2 separate regions of the Homo sapiens genome follow, and region 1 is linked to region 2. The links are contacts of gene promoters, found by promoter capture Hi-C in human tissues and cell types (Jung and others, 2019). All regions are on one chromosome and are shown on one strand. The core of a region is centred on a gene start or on the middle of the fragment in contact, and the rest is flanking DNA. Distances in the headings are between cores, read along the strand shown.

Region 1 (2,925 bases), core at 80-2,579, 200 kb before region 2:
ATTTTTACATTTTTCTGATTTGTTTGCCTGACTTTTCTTACAGATTTTAGGATTTACGTATTCTTATATGCTCAGGATATGAATCTTTTGTCACATATATGGTTTACAAATTTTCTCAATTTGAGAATTACCTTTTCATTTTCTCATTGGTGCCTTAATTAAGAGAAGTTCTTCATTTTTAAAATAATCTAAGTCACCTAATTTTTTAAAAATTGTGGATTATTTTGGTCTCATATAATATTTTTTTCCACTTCAGGGCAACAAACAGGTTCTTTTGTTTCCCTAAGTGTCATTGCTTTACTTTCCAAAATTAGATCTGCATTTTTTCTGAAAGTTATATTTGTGAATTCTGTGAAGTACAGACGAATATATATTTTCCCATGTGGATATCTAATTGATGAAGAAGCACATATTAAAAAGAATTTTTATAATCTGTACAGTAGCATATTCTTTTCACAAATGAAATGACAGTATTTACTTTGATCTACACTCTATTCTCTTCCTTTATCTATATATCTTTAAGCAAATGCCACACTGATATTGTAGCTTTATAATATGATTAGATATCTCATAAAGTAAGTCTTCCATTTTGTTATTCTTTCACATTATCTTGACTATTCTTAGCTCTCAGATTTTACTCCAAATTTTTATAATATTTGTATCAATTTCCAGAAAAAATTCTAGTATTTTTATTGGGTTTGCATTGATATGATGGATTACTTTGGTGAAGAATATTGAGATGTTTAAAATATTAAATTGTCTATCCATAAATATTATTTATTATAATTATTTTAAAGGTTTTTTGTATATGCAGGAAAATAAAAGCAGATCTTTACCTAATAATATTTACATAGATTTCAAAAGGATTAAAGGGCCTAAATGGGAAAGGTAAATGTAGAAAGTTAATTTTTTTAATGTAGGAGAATATTCTTGAAACCTAGGACTTTCAAAAGCACAGAAATTAAGGAAAATGCTTATTAAATTTCTCTCCTCAAAATTAAGGATGCTTATTCAATGTGAGACACAGTATATGAATATTAAAATCAAGTACAGGTGCCAAGACAATTCAATGAAAAAAGAACAGTCTGTTCAACAAATAGCAAATAGTGCTAAGAAAACTGGATGTGCACATGAAAAAGAATGAAGTTGGACCCCCTACTTTACATCATATACAAAAATTAACTTATAGTGGGTAAAAGGCCTAAATGTAACAGCTAAAACTATAAACAACTAGATGAAATCATAGATATAAATCTTCATGACCTTGAAATAGGCAATGGTTTCTTAGATATGACATCAAAAGCACAAGGAACAACAAAAAATAAATGAATGAATTGGAACTCATCAAAATGAAAAACTTTTGTGTATCAGTGGATACCATCGAGAAAGTGAAGACACCAACATGGGTGAACGTATTTGTAAATCATATATCTGATGAGACTTGTAGCTAGAATACATAAATAACTCTTACAATTCAACACTTTAGAAAGACAAATAACCCAATTAAACAATGGGCCAAAGTATCTGAATAGACATTTTTCAAAAGAAGACATATAAATGCCCAATAGGCACATGAAAAGATGGTCAATGTCATAAGTCATTAGGGAAACGGAAATCAAAACAACAATGAGATATTGCTTAGCCACCAGATTGGCTACAGTAAAAAAGACAGATAATAAAAGGGTTGCCAAGGGAGTGGAGAAATTGGAACCCTCATACATTGTTGGTGGGAATGTAAAATGGTGCAATTTATTTGGCAAACAGTCTGGCAGTTTCCCAAGGGTTTAAACATAGAGTTATTATATGACTCAGCATTCCACTCCTAGATATACAACCAAGAGAAATTAAAACTTATGCCTACACATAAGCTTGTACATAAATGTTCAAAACAACATTATTAATAATAGCCAAAAGTAGAAACAATCCAAAATAGCCATTAATGAATAAATAAGATGTGATGTATTCATCCAATGGCACATTATGTAGCCATGAAAAGAAATGAATAACTGGTTCATGCACCAACATGGATGACCCTTCAACATGTTATGCTAAGTAAAGTTCGTTTCAAAAGACCACGTATTGTGTGAGTACACTGACAGAAAATGTTCAAAATATGTACATCTACAGAAAGTAGATTAGTGATTGCCTAGGGCTGAGGAGTTTGGGAAAAATTGGAAGTGACTGTTAATGGGTATCAGGTATCTTTTTGAGATTATGTAAATGTCCTAAAAATTGATTGCAGTGATAGTTGCACAACTCTCTGGATATAATAAAATTCATTTAACTGTGCTCTTTAAATGGGTAAACTGTATCCATTATATCTCAATAAAGTTTCTATAAGAAATATCAAAAAATAGCTCTCCCTCTCCCTCTCCCTCTCCCTCTCTCCCTCTCTTCCCTCCCCCTCTCCCCCCTCCCTCTCCCCTCCCCCTCTCCCCCTCTCCCTCTCCCCTTTGCACGGTCTCCCTCCCATGCCGAGCTGATACGAGGCTGGACTGTACTGCCGCCATCTCTGCTCACTGCAACTTCCCTGCCTGATTCTCCTGCCTCAGCCTGCCGAGTGCCTGGGATTGCAGGCGTGCGCCGCCACGCCTGACTGGTTTTTGTATTTTTTGGTGGAGACGGGGTTTCCCCCTGTTGGCCCCCCTGGTCTCCAGCTCCTGACCACGAGTGATCTGCCAGCCTCGGCCTCCCGAGGTGCTGGGATTGCAGACGGAGTCTCGCTCACTCAGTGCTCAATGTTGCCCAGGCTGGAGTGCAGTGGCGTGATCTTGGCTCGCTACAACCTCCACCTCCCAGCCACCTGCCTTGGCCTCCCAAAGTGCCGAGATTGCAGCCTCTGCCTGGCCGCCACCCCATCTAGGAAGTGAGGAGCGTCTCTGCCTGGCCGCCCATTGTCTGGGATGTGAGGAGCCTCTCTGCCCG
Region 2 (2,917 bases), core at 335-2,834:
CCTCTCTCCAAACTTTCCTGTTGAGACTTCCCATTGGCCAAAGACAAGCAAGGCCAGAAGGCAATGGCGGCCTTTCAGGGCAGACAGCAGGGTGGAAAAGGTGGGGAGCCAAAGGCATGGGACACATGGCACCTCAAGACTCTTGTTTTTTCCCTATCTGCCAAAGTCCACACAGCTCTCGCACACAAATGCCTTTCTCATCCCTCACCCTGACAACTACTCTGATCTGAGGAATGCATCAGGAATGAGACCAGATGCCCATATCAACTTCTTCAGGGAATGAAGACCTAGAGGAAAAGTGCAGCTGAATCTGGAACTGCAATTGCCCAGAAACACGATCAGAAATGTAATAAATGCTGCTATTACACCTAAAATAATTAACACTAAATCTCTAACTTTATCAAATATACAGAGAGTGTTCAAACTTCAAATTTGTTGAGTGTAATTTAACAACTTATATTTGCTAATGTGCTTTATAATACTCAAAGTCCCTACTCCCTGGCTCACAGCATGTGAGGTGAGAATGGAGTTAATAATTTGGGGCAGTTCTTTTCTTTTCTTTTTTCTTTGAGACAGAGTCTGGCTCTGTCGCCCAGGCTGGAGTGCAGTGGCGTGATCTCAGCTCACTGCAAGCTCCGCCTCCCGGGTTCACGCCATTCTCCTGCCTCAGCCTCCCGAGTAGCTGGGACTACAGGCGCCTGCCACCGTGCCCGGCTAATTTTTTGTAATTGTTTTTTGTAGTAGAGACGGGGTTTCACCGTGTTAGCCAGGATGGTCTCGATCTCCTGACCTCGTGATCCGCCCACTTTGGCCTCCCAAAGTGCTGGGATTACAGGCGTGAGGCACCGCGCCAGGCCTGGGACAGTTCTTTTCAAAATGTATTCGGTGACATTAAACTCTGGAGTTATTACAGTATTACAGTCTGAGTTGTTTCTTTATTGCCAAAAGCCAGAACCTCTGCCTTGAAGTCATAAATGCCCCAATGGAGTCAGAGCTGCCAAAATCCAGAGTTCAGACCCAAGACAACTCCCCATCCAAGAACCTAGGGGTGCTGAGCCAGAATCGCCCCCACCAAACTGAGCGAGAACAGCCGAAGCCATCCTCTATATCCAGAGACTAGCTGCTTAAGCAAATCCCTCATCCCATTCAGGGACGCACAGTCCAGCCATTACTCCAAAACCCTGAGCCAGCGCCCCTCTGCCCTCATCCAGAGATGCACATCCCAAGACTGACCCTAAGCTTCGACCCGAGGAGGCACAGCGCAAGTCGCTGTCACGAAACGTGAAGATGCACTGTTTTGTCAAACCCAGGGCTGCTCCCCAAACCGAGCCCACGCTCGAGCCCACGCTCTTCCCATCCTATCCCGGGTAGGTCGGGCCGCTGAACTTCCCTAGTCTACCCCACCTACGAGGCCTTATCATTGGTTACCAGTCCCCTCTTCCACTCCTCCTACTTCAGTCCACAGGGACGGGTCACAGCTGCACATCCTACACTCCTACTCCTGGCTACGCCTCCAAGAGGGGCGCGGTACAGACGGGACTCACCCCAGCGTCCCAAACAATGTCGCCCGCAGCGTGCGTCCAGTACCATGGCGCATGCGCAAGGAGGCCTATGGCCTACAATCCCCAGAAAGCCCCGCGCGCAGCAGTGGCCATTCGCAAGGCTACCCTGGTGAAGGTGGCCTTTGACTTCCGTGCATTTGGAAGTCCTTTGACTTCCGTGCATTCGTCTAAAATAACGACAATCATAATAACGATAAAATAATGAAATGTTAAATAAATCACTATCAACGATGAAAAGAAGTTTCAATATTTTACTACTTGGAAATGGGCACTTTACCGTTTTAGTGAAGACTTTTATAAGTTCTTATTTTATAGGCATGTCTTTTAACGTTAAAACCACGAAACTTTTCAATTAACACTCACTTAAATAATTCCCTCCCCGCCCCCCACCATGTTTTATTTCTGTTGATGAAAACTCTGGATAATCTACACTTGCGATATAACATAGCCCTGTAATTTATTTCCTAGTCTCAGAAGAAGCAGAAGGAATTAACAACTATTGTCTGAATCCTTAACAGGGGAATTGCAGGAGTACTGAGAGTGTCCTAAAAGAGACACATTACAACATAACAAGAAAACGCGGGAAGTTTTCAGATTCTTTTTGAAAATTTGCCCTTGTTGAGACTTAGGCTTTATTTTACTTCATGTTATTGCATTTAAGATTTAAGATTTCTATTAAAGAAAAATTTGGGTACCCTAAATGGGGTAAGAAAATTGAATAGGAATTCCATTAGAGGCCCACAGTTTTAGCCTGGAGGAAAGCCCTGATAACGTGTGAGAACAATCTGTCTCCTAGGAAAGGTCACCTGGTCCTGCTGGCAGAGTCTCTGTTTGGAATATCTGGCTGGCATTCCCTTTTCCACGCACCCTCAAGCTGTAGGGGTGGTGAGGCGGTTCCAGTCCTAGACTAGATAGAGAAGTGAAGACCCCCACCTCTACGCAATGGGCAGGAAATGGTTGAATAATATCCAACTATAGCTTGACATCGCAGCTTAGGGCACATAAAGGGACAGTGCAATTGTTTTGGCTTATCTCTGTCTTTTGATGTTTACATGTTTGATGTTCTTATATATTGCTCTAAGTTGAAGGATTACTTGATTTAATTTGACATACTTGAATTTTAAAAAACGAGTTCAGGAACATTTTTATTTTTGACCTAATACAAGGTTAATTTTTGTGACATCTGTGTCTGTTGGAAAACAATGTGTCTTCTCTATCAGATGGATATGCATACATTTATATTTTCCCCAGACTTGCTAACTGTGCTATTTAAATTTCCTACATGCTTATTTGTGCTTACTTAGATTTTTTCATTATGCATCTGTCAACGATTGAAAAGTGCATGTCAAAAAGGT

What was found. The method cuts DNA at HindIII sites, captures the fragments that hold promoters and counts their contacts. A contact is called where the count stands out against the background at its distance.
Region 1: a contact is called between a fragment that was not itself captured here and the fragment with the promoter of ZNF285 in region 2, in 2 of the 25 tissues and cell types used here (IMR-90 fibroblasts and hippocampus).

The regions. Positions count from the first base shown.
Region 1 is chr19:44,200,897-44,203,821 of GRCh38, forward strand. No RefSeq gene overlaps it. Among named protein-coding and RNA genes, the nearest start is that of ZNF227, 10 kb to the right of the region's middle. The HindIII fragment of the contact is 7,900 bases long and covers 1-2,925 here.
Region 2 is chr19:44,400,024-44,402,940 of GRCh38, forward strand. ZNF285 (zinc finger protein 285) reads right to left here and starts at 1,585. Exons shown (of 4, transcript NM_152354.6): 1 at 1,545-1,585. RefSeq lists an enhancer at 982-1,738. The HindIII fragment of the contact is 9,713 bases long and covers 1-2,917 here.